Regions from separate parts of the Homo sapiens genome. Here regions 1, 2 and 3 are each linked to region 4. Evidence: promoter capture Hi-C in 16 types of primary human blood cells and fetal thymus (Javierre and others, 2016). All regions are on one chromosome and are shown on one strand. Each heading gives the region's core, a stretch centred on a gene start or on the middle of the fragment in contact. The rest is flanking DNA. Distances are from core to core; before and after follow the strand shown. Region 1 overlaps ATG7 (autophagy related 7). Region 2 overlaps HRH1 (histamine receptor H1). Region 3 has its middle 4.0 kb from the start of TAMM41. Region 4 holds the start of RAD18 (RAD18 E3 ubiquitin protein ligase).

Region 1 (3,585 bases), core at 83-2,582, 2.3 Mb after region 4:
CATCATTTGTCTATAAAATGTGCATTGGCTCCATATGCCAAAGCAGCCCCCTCCCGACTCCTGGTGATCTCTACCTCCTTTTTACACATCAGCAGCTAAGAACATATGCTGTTTGTCAGCGGGACTTGGTCATGTGGTTTGGTGCTTATTTTAATGACTGCCAGAGCTTGCAGCCCTGCAGCTGGGAAAATGAGAATAGAAGCCTGCTCTGTGTGCTCCATTTTGGCCCAGAGAAGGCACTTCAGGGCCAAATTGCAGTTATTCTGGCACTTCTGCTAAGTGAATGGCCCCACATGGGCTCAGAGAAATCGGACACTGAGTGCTCGCTGCCCTTTAGAACTTGTTCTTTTGGACTTCTCGATGACCTGTAGTGGGAGACTGACCATTTCCTTTTAATTAAGCCTCTGTTGTGCTTGCAGAGCTCTTTTGAGGGAGGTAGGCTTTAAATGAGGCATGTTTTAGGCAGAGGAAATTTTCATAGTGAGCATGGGGAAGGGGAACCACATTAGTCAGGCATTGTTGGCTAATATGGGGCAGTGACAAGAAAAACTACCAGCAGCTACCATTTATTGACTGCTTGCTGTATGCCAGGCACTGTAGCAAGCACCTCACAAACATTTAGCCCTCCCAGCAAGTTCTAGAGTAGTTATACCTGTCCTTATCTTACACCTGAGTAAATCCAGGTGCAGGGGGGTGAAGGAACCTGCCCTAACCTGCCCTAGGCTTCTCAGCCAATAGGAGGTGGAGGTGGAATCCACACTCGGGTTCATCTGTATAAAGACCTGATTCCTGACTGCATTACATTACCTCTCCTTTTAGCATCCTTTCCCTGAACCATTAAAAACTCTCCTGCTTGTGGTGGACATGGTGGCTCACGCCTAGTAATCCTAGCACTTTGGGAGGCCAAGGCAGGTGGATCACCTGGGGTCAGGAGTTTGAGACCAGCCTGGCCAACAAAGCAAAACCCTACTAAAAATACAAATATTAGCTGGGCATGGTGGCGCATGCCTGTAATCCCAGCTATGTGGGAGGCCAAGGCAGGAGAATCGCTTGAACCCGGTAGACGGAGGTTGCAGTGAGCCGAGATCACGCCATTGCACTCCAGCCTGGACGACAGAACGAGACTCTGTCTCAAAGAAAAACAAACCAAAAAAACTCCCCTGCTCTCCTAAAGCAAACAGACAAAAAACTAAAACACACAGAAAAATCAGAGTGTGATAATTTTTAGCATTGTCAGGCTGGTTTATGGAAACTAGAGGCCTGTGTGTCTAGCTTCCCCTAAAGACAGGTTCTTTTTGTTTTTGTTTTTTTCTCTCCCTCTGTTTTTTATTTTCTACAATTACTTCTTCACTTTAAAGTGAATTACTTCTTCATTTAAAAAATCCTGTATTTCTTCATTAAAAAATATCCTACACTTCTTCATTTTAAAAAATCCTATACTGGCTTGATTATTTGCTGTGTCCAATCCTAGAGGGAGAATGGTTGGGCGGTCTCACTCCAGGAAGCACTCCTGCTTCAATTAATTCTATAAGCAGCCAAGCCAAAATAATTCCATCCTTAGCTTCTTTAGTCACAAAATGCCAGAAAACTTTATGGAAATGATTTCTCATTTAGGCTACTTATTTAGAGTAATGAATTGCTTTTTACCAAAGCTAAATTTAAGTAGGTCATCTGTTAACTGTTGGATGAATAAATGAAGGTTCTCTTCGTAGGACTGGTATGGTTTAAAGATAGGGGTTTTGTTCTACTTTTTTATTTTATTTTATTTTTTGAGACGGGGTCTTGCTCTGTTGCCCAGGCTGGAATACAGTGGTGCAGTCATGGCTCACTGCAGCTTGGATTGCCTGGGCTCAGGCGATCCTCCTGTCTCAGCCTCCTGAGTAGTCGGGACCACAGGCGTGCACCACCACTCCATAATAATTTTTTAAAATTATTTGTGGAGATGATATCTTACTATGTTGCCTAGAGTGGTCTTGTCTGGGCTCAAGTGATCATCCTGCTTTGGCCTCCCAAAGTGCTAGGATTACAAGTGTGAGCCACTGTGCCTGGCCTTTTTTTTTTTTTTTGAGACGGAGTCTTGCTCTGTCGCCCAGGCTGGAGTGCAGGTGCGCAATCTTGGCTCACTGCAAGCTCCGCCTCCCGGGTTCACGCCATTCTCCTGCCTCAGCCTCCCAAGTAGTTGGGACTATAGGCGCCCGCCACCATGCCCAGCTAATTTTTTTTTTGTATTTTCAGTAGAGACGGGGTTTCACCGTGTTAGCCAGGATGGTCTTGATCTCCTGACCTCATGATTTGCCCACCTCGGCCTCCCAGAGTGCTAGGATTACAGGTGTGAGCCACCTTTTTTTTTTTTTTTTTTTTAAAAGCCCGGCCTTTTTTTTTTTTTTAAATTCCTTCCTGTGACAGATTCTCACCCTGTCACGCAGGCTGGAGTTCAGTGGCACAATCACGGCTCACTGCAGACTCGACCTCCTGGGTTCAAGTGATCCTCCCACCTCCCACCTCAGCCTCCCAAGTAGCTGGGACTACAGGTGCCTGGCAATTTTTTTTTATTTTTTGTAGAGATGGGGGCCCACCGTGTTGCCCAGGCTGGTCTTGAACTCCTGGGCTCAAGCAGTCCTCCTTCAGCCTCCCAAAGTGTGGGGATTACAGGTGTGAGCCACTGCACCCAGCCCTATTTTACTTCTTTATTCATGGATAACATACATAAAGTGCACTGATAGCAAATGTTTAGCTTGTGGCTTTTTACATAGGTATATGCCTTGTAACCACCACCCAGCTCAAGATACAGAATATTTCCATCTCCCCAGGAGCCTTCCTCGTGGCCTTCTCAAGTCAGTAGCTCCACCTCACCCTGTAATCACCATTCTAACTTCTGTCAGGTTGATTGGTTTTGCCTGTTGAACAACGTATAAAGCTGTGTGTGACACACAGCTTTTATCTTAATAGTAAGATAAAATTATTCTTACTATTTTATTTTGGAACAGTTTCAAACTTACAGAAATTCTACAAGAATAAGACAGATACCTTCTATTTATCCATCTCCCAGAGACTCCCATTCAGTTTTTGTCCCAATAATGTCCTTTTATAGTGGAGCATCATCCCAGGATCACACGTGGTCCCCAGCTGTCACGTCTTTGTGGTCTCTTTCAGTCTGGGACAGCTCCTTGTCTCCCTTTGACTTTTAAGACCATGGCACTTCTGAAGACTATAATCCTGGTCATTTTGTAGAATGTTTTTCAACTTGGGTTTATCTGATGTTTCCTCCCATGAGATCCAGGTTGTGTATTTTCATCCAAACACCACAGATGCTGTGTTCTTTCCATGGCATTCTATCAGATAGCACACAGTGTCTGTTTGTCACGTTGCTGCTGGTGTTAACTTTAATCTCTTCATTAAAATGCTATATTAATGACCAGATATTGTCACTAGTAGCTACCAGAATGCTTTCAGAAAGAAACATTTATTCTTGACTACTTTCATATGCAGTTGCATAAGGTTTTATTTGCACTGATTTGTGCATGCATGTTTCCTGCCCGCTAAGGTCTTAGTCCTGAAAAAACAATAATAGGTTTAGGGACCTAA
Region 2 (3,371 bases), core at 758-3,257, 2.3 Mb after region 4:
GTAGTCCCACTTACTTGGGAGGCCGAGGCACGAGAATTGCTTGAACCCGGGAGGTGGAGGTTGCCGTGAGCCAAGATCACGCCACTGCACTCCAGCCTGGGCAACAGAGCAAGACTCTGTCTCAAAAAAAAAAATACAATATTTTAACAATGTGCCCTCTTAAGTGTGCACAGATACACATACACGGTATTCCCAAGAGTGGTGGCAGCTCAAAATGATATGTTTGAGTAGACGAACAGCTGACATGGAGTTCCCGTGCACCTACGGAAGGGGACGCTTTGAAGGAACCAAGTGCATTTTTATCTGTGAGTTCTGTTGTGTTTGTCAAAAAGTCATTGTAATCTTTCATAGCCATACCTGGTAAGCAAAAACTAGTAAAGACATAGGAACATGTAGTTTTACTTGGTGTTTATGTTGCAATCTGGTTGTGATTTATATTTTAAAGCTTGGTGCTAAACCACAATATGTATAGCATATGGAGTGCCTGTACAAGCTGATGTTTTGTATTTTGTGTTCCTCTTTGCATGATCTGTCAAAGTGAGATATTTTTACCTGCCTAAAATATGATGTTTAAAAGCATACTCTATGTGATTTATTTATTTCTACCTTTCTGAGTCTCTTGGACTAAGAAGATGTTTTGAAATGTACCATCAAATGTTAACAGAGTTTGATATGGGCTTTCTCTTTGGTTTCTCATCACATTTGTAAATGTCTTTTCAAAAGGATTTACTTTTTGTAAAAAGCTTCATTCTCACTCTGCTTTGCATCCCCCAAACTTCTTGTTCAAAACGGGGGGAGTTTAGGAGACTTTAATCCCGGTTTCAGAAGCTGCAGCTGGTCTGTTTCCAGGTCAGAAACCATTGTTCAGAAGACCTCCCTGTGAGAGAGTTGCTCCTCAGGGTCCCTCAGGACCAAAGAACACTCGAAAAGAGCACTTCACACAGACAAGTGGCTAAGTGTCCATTATTTACCTTGAACAATCAAGGCAACTAGTGGAGAGAACTGATTGTGAGCTCTGCCTCTGGGTCAGAGAGACCTGGATTTGAGTCTGACAAGAACAAGAAATGGTCAATAAATATAAATTACCAGCGTCTAAGGAACAAGGTCTATGCATTATTGTATACAGTGTCTCTAGTGCTTGTATAGTGTCTGGTATACAGAGGGCACTCCTATGCATTTTTAAAACATGCTGAGCACATACCATGTGCCAGGCTTTGTGTTTTATCTAATGTTATCTAATGGTATTGGTGCCATTATGTAATGTTGCCTTTACAACAACCTCATGAGGGAGATTTCCATCTTTACAAATAGGCAAACTGAGGCCCAGAGAGATTGAGGAACTGCTCCGAGGTCTGATTCTGGAATGTGCTTCCTTTCCACTTTATCAATCTGCTCTTCGTACTCCTGTCTGAACGATGGAAATTAATTTTTGAATGTATAAAAGACAACAGACTATGATACAGAAATGTCAGCCCCAGCCCACTAAGAAAGCCCCAGCCCATCAGTGGCTAATGGCTTTAATAAATTGGTCATTTGGCTACTTGGCTTGTGGACAATCTCTGACCTCTTTTGAAGATGGGCACTGCATGGACTTCCAGGAGGTGGATTTAATAGTCTTAACTCAGCATGAAAAAGATGCTGGGATGCTCCTGGCTATTTATGCACCCTAAGTGCCATAGAGACATGCTGTTGGCAAGGCATGGTGGCTCATGCCTGTAATCCCAGCACACTGGGAGGCTGACGCGGGCAGATGGCTGGAGTCCAGGAGTTCGAGACAAGCCTGGGCACCATGGTGAAATCCTGTCTCTACTAAAAATAAAAAATTAGCCAGGGGCTGTGACGCACACCTGCAGTCCCAACTACTTGGGGGGCTGAGGCAGGAGGATCACTTGAGCCCAGAAAGTTGAGGCTGCAGTGAACCAAGATTGGGCCACTGCACTCCAGCCTGGGTGACAGAGAGAGACTCTGTCTTAAAATGAAATGAAATGAAATGAAATATAAAATAAAATAAAATATAGAAACATGCTGTTAAAGATCTTATTTGCCAATATTTATCATTCCACAATTTGTCAGGCTTTCAAAGCCTAGCTTGACGTGACATATAATTCTCATTGTGGGGAGCATGTACTCTTCTCAACTCAGATGCAAGACAAATGATGAAGGTGGATTGACCTGAATCACTGTAGCCTTGAATAAGTGTCACAGGGCCTCATGACCCTGCTGTGTCTGAGAACATTCTCTGCCTCTTTAAGTCTCCTGGGTCTGCATCTTTCTTAATGCTCCATGGTCTTGGAGCCCCAATGGTCTGCCTATCCCATTCCAGGCAGCAGAGGCAGGTCTTCTTCCTTAGCCTCACCCTATCTTCCTGCTAACAAGGAAGCCTCATTTGTCGTCTGAGCAATCATTAGCTCTGGTCCCCATATCTATTTTGGATTCCCAGACCTTATCTGTTAATTAACAAATATTTTTCCAGCACTTCTTATGTCTGGCCTGAGCCAGAAAGACATGATTTCAACCCTGTGGAGCTACTTCAGGTTTGCAAGTGACAGAAATCAACTTTGTGAATAGTTACTAGAGTATCTTAAGTCTGTTTTGTGCTCCTATAACAGAATATCACAGACTGGGTAATTTATAATGAATAGAAATTTATTGGCTCACAGTTCTGGAGGCTGGTAAGTCTAATATCAATGTGCTGGCATCTGGTGAGGACCTTCCTGATGCATCATGACATGATGGAAGAGCAAAGAGAGGGCAAGAGAGAGCAAAAGGGAGCAATCCCACTCCTGTAATAAAGAACTCACTCCCATGATAACAGCATTAGTGCATTCATGAGAGTGGAAACCCATGACCTAAACACTTCTTAAAGATCCCACTTCCCAATATGATCACAATGGCAATTAAATTTTAACATGAGTTTTGGAGAGGACAAATGTTCAAGCCACATAGCATGGCATGCTTTGTGGAATCTAGTGATACTTTGGATGACTTTGCCTTGAGGAGGGCTTGAGACAAGTCAGCCATAGGAATCTCAAGCTAAGAATTCAAGGAAACTCCCTCTCTAGGATACTGCCAATGATCTACATAAACTAATCCTATTCCCACTCTATGAACATCAGTTCAAAAGTCCCAAACTCAGGATAAAGAATCGTCCTGTGTCCACTTTACTCCAGTCAACTCTGGAGGGGGTGGAGGCTGGGGTGGCACAGGTGGTACAAACATAGCTGGAGAATCAGCAGTTCCCAGAGAAGCAAGGATTACTGTGAGTTCGGCAGAAGCTTTAAAAGGTGTTCATTATAAAATCACAAAACCCAGCAGTAGAGTCAAACTTATAAAGAACTAACTTTAACTTAGGCTCATATATGCTCAATAGA
Region 3 (3,502 bases), core at 634-3,133, 2.9 Mb after region 4:
ATCAGAGTGCACTCACCGTGGAATTACACTGAAGCCTCTCACCCAAAGACAGTGAATAAATCTCATTACCAGCCGGTTCCTTTTTTATTTCCTTCCTTCCCTTGGGGAAATAATTCAACGTCATTGGATTTTTCCTGTTTGCAAAAGTAATCCATGTTCATAAAAATGTAAACATTATGAAATACATACATCATGCCCCAGAAATAGCCACGGTAATCTTTGGCACATATTCCTTCCAATATTTTTCTATGAATATATTAACATTAAAAACAATTTTAAGTGGATTCCTAGGATAGATACTATTTTGCAATTTGCTTTTTTTGCACTTAGCGTATCAGGGACAATGTTCTGTGTCAGAATATATAGATTTCCCTCATTCCATGTATTAGTAGCAAATTATTCTAAGATATGGATATGCCATAATTTTGTTTAAAATTTTTTGTTTAAAAGAAAGTGTTTAAACATTTTCTTTCTCTTTCTTTCTTTCTTCTTTTCTTTTGTTTCTTTCTTTTTTTTTTTTTTTTTTTGAGAGCGAGTCTTGCTCTGTCACCCAGGCTGGAGTGCAGTGGCACAATCTAGGCTCCCTGCAACCTCCACCATCCGGGTTGAAGTGATTCTCCTGCCTCAGCCTCCTGAGTAGCTGGGATTACAGGTGCCCGCCACCACATCTGGCTAAGTTTTGTATTTTTCGTAGAGACAGGGGTTTCACTATGTTGGCCAGGCTGGTCTCGAACTCCTGACCTCAAGTGATCCACCCGCCTCGGCCTCCCAAAGTGCTGGGGTTACAGGCATCCTGGCCTGTTTAAACATTTTATTGTTGATGGATGTAGGTTATTTCTAGTTTTCACACCTGCAAACAATGCTATCATGAGCATCCTTGTACATTTTATGTGCATGAACAAGTATTGCTATAAGACAGATTCCTAGAAGGGGAATTGCTGGGTCAGAGTGTCAGCACGCTGCTAAATTCCCCTCCAAAAGATGGTGCCAATTCACACACCCACCAGCAGAGTTCAGCCCTTGATAGAAATAAAGATGCTGCAATGTTTCTCCATTTGTCTCCCTTACAGGCGTTCACACCCAATTATCAGCAATTTTCATGTTCACAAACACTTTTCTTCCTGCAATGCAAAACCACCAGCTGGAAGGTTCCATCACATTCCTGTGTGCATTTTGCCTTTCCCCAGAAAGAGGCAGAAGCAACGTAGCCACGAACACATTTGTATTCTTCAGCAGAAATCTCCCTGCTCCTGGCCCTTCATCCACCCACTCTCTTTTAAATTACCATGGCTTGTGAAATTAGAGGCTATTAGGAAGACCCAGTGTTCTATATAATCGCTTTAGGGTTCTGTTGGAAAGCTTATACCAATGAAATAAACATGTTAGAGAGCCACTTACAAATATAGATAAATGCCTGGTGACTCGAGTGAATATTGGGCCTCATTCTTCTGATTTATCTAGCAGTTGTCTTTGTATTCCTTAATAATGACCTTGTCAGGCTTTCACTAGGAGAAGGTTCATCGAATCCATGTAATCCATTTTTTTTAAAGCCCTGTAAAAAAACATCTATGGCTTTAATGCTTTTTTTTTTTTTTTCTAATCAGTGTTTAAGTACAGGAGAGAAAAATGTTTGGGGAAGAATAAAAATCCAGGCTCAGTGGTTCTTACAATTAGCCACATGTTCAATTGGTCTGCTGATGGAGGGGAAGGAGAGGGGTCTTGATCTCCATCTTGTCAGAGGTGGGTCACCCTGTCCCATTTGTCCATTCTCGGCTGATTGATGGTTAGAACTGGGACAGACTGGGAGCATTTTTTCGTTTTTTCTTTTCTTTTCTTTCTTTTCTTTTCTTTTTTTCTTTTCTTTTCTTTTTTTTTTTTTTTTTTTTTTGAGACAGGGTTTCACTCTGTCACCCAGGCTGGAGTGCAGTGGCACGATCTCGGCTCACTGTAACCTCTGCCTCCCAGGCTCGAGTGATCCTCCCACCTCAGCCTCCTGAGTAGCTGGGATTACAGGCATGTACTACCACACCAGGCTAATTTTTGTATTTTTGTAGAGAATGGGGTTTCACCATGTTGTCCAGGCTGGTCTTGAACCCTTGAGCTCGAACAATCCACCCACCTAGGCCTCCCAAAGTGCTGGAATTACAGGCGTGAGCCACTATGCCCAGCCAACTGAGAGCATCTTAATACATCTTTAGTGTCTGATCAGGGGCTTGAAGGTACCACCTGGGTTGGAATCCAGGCCCCAGGATTTAATAGCTGTGTGACCTTGGACAAGAAGACTTAGCCTCTCTGTGCTTTCCTTTCCTCATCTGCAGCCTGGGGAGAGTAATGACACCTCACTCACAGGGTTGTTGTGACAGCAAATGAAACAGTATCTAGAAAGTACATAGAATAGTGCCTGGAGTAAGCTTTCAATAAACGGAGGACATCCTCCTGAATTCTTAAGAGACAATGTACAAAAGGAATTAAGAAGCATAATTATACCTACATCTTTATGGCGTTTAGCATTTTACACAAAGCACTTTGCAGACATGATTTTATTTAGCTCTTAAAACAAATCCTGGGAAATTAGTAGCTACTATTTCAGTTTTACAGATGGATAAACTGAAGCTTAGAAAAAAGAATTGATGTGCCTGAAGTCACAGGGCTAATGGCAGCTGCTAATACAGCCTCCAAGTCCAATCCCTTTCCTCTTGCACGAGAAAAATAACACGGGGTGTTCATTTCACCAAGGGACCCATTCATTCATTGATTCATTCTCCCATTGAAACCTTCCTCATCCTTTAGTCCCAGCTCAGCTATCAAAGTGTTCTGTTCTCTGTGCCTTCCTAACCCTTTGCTTTTAGCTCTCTAGCTCTTGTCTTAAATATCAGATATGTCCATCAAGTACAATTATAAAAGGCTTAGGGGCCCTTTGAGGTCAGGAACCATATCTTATTAATCTTTCTGTCCTTTAGTGCCTAGTACAGTGCCTGAAACAAAATTTCTGCATTTGCAAATGTTATAGTCTGGTGGCAAAAAATTCACATGCATGCAAAAAAAAATACACTATGGAGAGTATAAACCAGATCTATACCACCGCAATGGTAAGACAGCAGGGGTTACTTTTTCTTCAGGGTTTCTGGGAAAGCTTCTTAGAGGGATGACATTTGGATTAGACCTTGGAAGATGACCAGCAGTTCACCAGAGAGTACACCGTGAAAAAATTCTAAGAAGAAAGAATTGCCTCCATACTGGGTCTTAGAATCCTCCTTCTAGGGGGACACTGAGTTTTCCAGTGGAGTTCAGGAAGACCATGGACTTTTACAGTACCAAAGAAATGAATAAATAATGGTGGAATTCCAAAGAACAGAGCAGGTATCTCATCTGAGAGGCAGAATGTGGAATCTGGATTGAGACTGCTTGGTTTCAATTCTCAGCCACTGATGATCTGTGTGACCTGGTGCAAGTTGGCTCTGTGTCTCAGTTTCCACAAGTATAAAATGGGGATAATAAGAGC
Region 4 (3,453 bases), core at 458-2,957:
GCTCTGTGGTGCCAAACTCTACATTCAGTGCTGTGGTGAGATACCAAAGTCAGAGAAGACATGGAACCCGCCTCTAAAGAACACTGAAATTGTGGGAATATGTAAAGTGTGCTTAAATCTACAAAGCAGGAGCTTTACAGGTTACAGAGCTCTTTTACTTTCCTTATCCAAGTCAAGCTTCATGACAACAAATTAAAAGGGGAAAGAAGCACTTAACACAGTGCTAATAATAATAAAATATATTCATTGAATGCTTACTACATTCCAGATACTTTCAATCAAGCAGCAAATAATATTTGAGCACCCACTTGGTGTCAGGCACTGCAGTAAGCACAGTGAATACACAGCAGAATCTGTGCCCACATACATCAACTAATTTATTTAATCAATCCTATGAACTGTTATTTTTGTCTCTAATTTATAGTTGAAGAAATTCAGGCTCAGAGAGGTTAAGTTACTAACCGAAGGTCATACAGTCAAGAGGCAGACAGGAGATTTCACCCAGGACCACTGGAACTCAAATCTGTGCTCTTCTCCACTGCATCCTGGTGCCAAGCCCACAACTCCAAAACTACAGCTTTCCTGGATCATTTCACAATGTCAGCTTCTCATCATGCAGATATCTCAAGTCCCCAAGCACTCTAGACGTCACTGATGACAGCAGGAAGAACAAGGCCTTCTACTTACTTTAGCCTTCACTTAATTCTAAAGTCAAATTTATGAGTCAGTGGGACAGGTATTATAATCCCCAAGTCTACAAAACTGAGGGAGAAGAAGGCTATCTTAGCCACTGTGAGAAACGGAAATAATCACAGAGCAAGAAGAAACACCAAGCAACTGATCTTTATCCAGCACAGCAAAGTGCATCTGCTCTTGAGCAAATCCAGGGCCCACCACTACTGTAAATGGAAACTGGTATGCCTTGCCAAAACAGAAAGTGGCCACAAAAATAAATGTTATTTAAGTGAAATAATCAGACGCAATGCAAGATCAGCGCTGAGCCTGAGTCCTGATCTCTGTTTAAGAGACATGAGCAATTGTTAGAGAAGAGTGAAGGTGTGTTAGAGAGGAGTTGGGGCAGTATGTCAGAACAAACGAGCACTACGTTTATTGAGAATAATCAGAAGAAATGAAAGAGCCTGTAAAGGAGACTACCTGCTTGGCTACGTGATTACATACATGTTATCTGATAAAGTGTCCACCCAAAATCATGTCCGGTGTCACTGTTTAGTGCTTGACACAAAGTAAGCTTTCAGTAAAGAACAGCTGTCGATGTCATTGTTTGGAATAACTGTTTTTCTCCATGTTATTGTTGGGATTGGATCGCAGAATAGCTGGTGCCATAAGACTGCCAACCTCAGCTCACCAGGCTTGTCCTTGTCACTTATCAGAGGAGTAAACTGAGACCCAGAGCCACGCGGTCGGCTAGTGGCAGGGCAGAGCCGGATACCCGGGCCCAGTGCGACGCTCGCGCCTCATCCTTTCTCCTTAAGGCGAGGACATCCTCCTCAAAGGGAGGGACCTCCCCCCGCAGACACCCGGGAGCTCCCAAACTCCCCGAAGCACTCACCTTCATGACTGCCAGGCCCGGAGGCCACCGAGACTCGGCCAGGGAGTCCATGGTCGCTCCCGAGGATGCTGGGGGTCAGCCACCCACTAGCCTCCGGCGCTCCAACACCACTCGAAATTCCCCGCGCTACCGCATTACGTCAGCAGCCCGCGACGCGCCAGAGGCGGGCGCGGAGCCTGCCGGAAGTTGTAGTAGTATGTGGGCGGGGCGCCGCTTAAGGGCTTGTACTGCGCATGCGCCAGGCTTCTGCCGCACTTACCTTGAAGAAAGTGAATGGTTAAAAAGCGTAGAGCCAGTTGAATATTAAGAAAAGATAGCCAGGAATCAAACCAAATCCAGACCTCACCAGATCTGTCAAGGTCCAGGCTCATGACCCCCCTCCGGGTCGCCCACCCTAATCGCAGTGACTATCCGTCCTTGCTCTGAACAGAAGTTTTTATATCCATTACTTTATGTCTCCCGTATCACAACACTGGGAGGTAGATGTTATCATTGTCAGTTTACACAAGAGAAGCCTACGCCCGAAAAAGTGGATAGAGTTTCGAGTCAGATTCCAAACAGGACCTCTGGGCTTTAAATGGGAGCTGTTGCTTTTATTCATATTAAAATTTTAATGCACGGTTTTTCTTTTTCTTCGGAGAGAAGCACCATTAACTTTGGCATATAGCCTTCTAGATATTTCCTATGCAGATTGACGAAGATTCTTTGCTTGAGCAAACTTTAGTCAGGCTCCTGAACCTTCTCCTAGGCCAATCTGTGTACTTCCTGTAAAAATCCAGTTTTAGCAAAAAACCCTGCTAAATCAAGTTACCAAGAATCCCCACCTTTGATATGTGATCACTCTTGATATCTGATGTGTTCCTCATCCTCCACCATCCCCCAGTTGATGTCTGATCACCCTGGCCTCTTCAGCAAGAATCTACTGTTACCTCTGATGTTTCCTCTTAGTAATTTTTCATGCACTGCTCCCCACCCTGCTTCCTGGCTATAAATTTCCATTTGCCCATGTTGTATTCAGAGTTGAGCCCAGTTTTCACCAATTGCAAGACACAGTTCCAGTGGTCTCTATACCTACTTGAATTGTCCTGATTAAGTCTTCCTTATTGTGCTTTAACAAGTATCATTGAACAATTTTTTTCTTAAACGAGATATAAATATAGATACTTTTTTTCATACATGTTATATTAAATGCATGAGGAATGGAGGTTTACGGTGTCCACCCCCGCCCCCCACTTTGTATCAGCCAATCATAGAACGGCATGCAAATGAACGCAAATGAATGCCAGGCTGAGCTGGAAAATGTCGGATAGTTCTGGATGTGGAGGAAGTGGGGTCTTGGAGAGACAAAGGAAAAGCATTTAAGACCAGGTCCGTGGCCTGAGTGAACCAGTAATTGTTTTTTTCACACTACTAGTTGGACAAGGTAATTAGGTTTAAGGTGACAAATGGCTGGGAAGGTGAGAGAGGAAGAGAGAGGAGATGAGAAAAAAGAGAAAGAATGGGTAAGGAGAAAGGGAGAGAGAGAAAAGACAGGGACAGGAATGTACTTTTTGCATTCAACCATGGAGACAGATTTGGAAGGAGGCAGTACTTGTTAGTCCTGGGGCCAAAATACATTTCCCTATCTATGGAGAGCCTCCAGGACAGGATGCGGTGCCATTCATCTCTGAGTGTCTGCCAATAGCTGGTGGGTGAGGCTGAATGAATGGATGAATCACCGACTAAGCCCACATTCCCATAAATCTTTTCCTCCCAGGCTGAGCATTTCTCTTCCTGCCATCTTCAGCAGCACCAGGGTGATAGATCCCATCAAGCCCACCTCTAGGCCCAGGAAGGAAAGTTCAAGAACAAGCGCACTTTGAGCTCAGGAAAAGGCGTTTGTC

What was found. Contacts are between HindIII fragments. The CHiCAGO score rates a contact against its expected background, and 5 or more counts as called.
Region 1: a fragment that was not itself captured here is called in contact with the fragment with the promoter of RAD18 in region 4 in 1 of 17 cell types (total B cells); the score reaches 5.5 in total B cells.
Region 2: a contact is called between a fragment that was not itself captured here and the fragment with the promoter of RAD18 in region 4, in 5 of 17 cell types (non-activated CD4 T cells, naive B cells, total CD4 T cells and 2 more). The highest score is 8.7, in non-activated CD4 T cells.
Region 3: a fragment that was not itself captured here is called in contact with the fragment with the promoter of RAD18 in region 4 in 1 of 17 cell types (total B cells); the score reaches 5.9 in total B cells.

The regions. Positions count from the first base shown.
Region 1 is chr3:11,282,799-11,286,383 of GRCh38, forward strand. All of the region lies in intron 3 of ATG7 (autophagy related 7), which reads left to right. Among named protein-coding and RNA genes, the nearest start is that of ATG7, 12 kb to the left of the region's middle. The HindIII fragment of the contact is 7,946 bases long and covers 1-3,585 here.
Region 2 is chr3:11,261,714-11,265,084 of GRCh38, forward strand. It overlaps HRH1 (histamine receptor H1), which reads left to right. Exons shown (of 2, transcript NM_001098212.2): 2 at 1-1,844. Among named protein-coding and RNA genes, the nearest start is that of ATG7, 9.0 kb to the right of the region's middle. The HindIII fragment of the contact is 2,532 bases long and covers 742-3,273 here.
Region 3 is chr3:11,849,139-11,852,640 of GRCh38, forward strand. No RefSeq gene overlaps it. Among named protein-coding and RNA genes, the nearest start is that of TAMM41, 4.0 kb to the left of the region's middle. The HindIII fragment of the contact is 1,052 bases long and covers 1,358-2,409 here.
Region 4 is chr3:8,961,765-8,965,217 of GRCh38, forward strand. It overlaps RAD18 (RAD18 E3 ubiquitin protein ligase), which reads right to left and starts at 1,708. Exons shown (of 13, transcript NM_020165.4): 1 at 1,571-1,708. The coding sequence starts at 1,621. RefSeq lists an enhancer at 1,556-1,725. The HindIII fragment of the contact is 5,728 bases long and covers 1,248-3,453 here.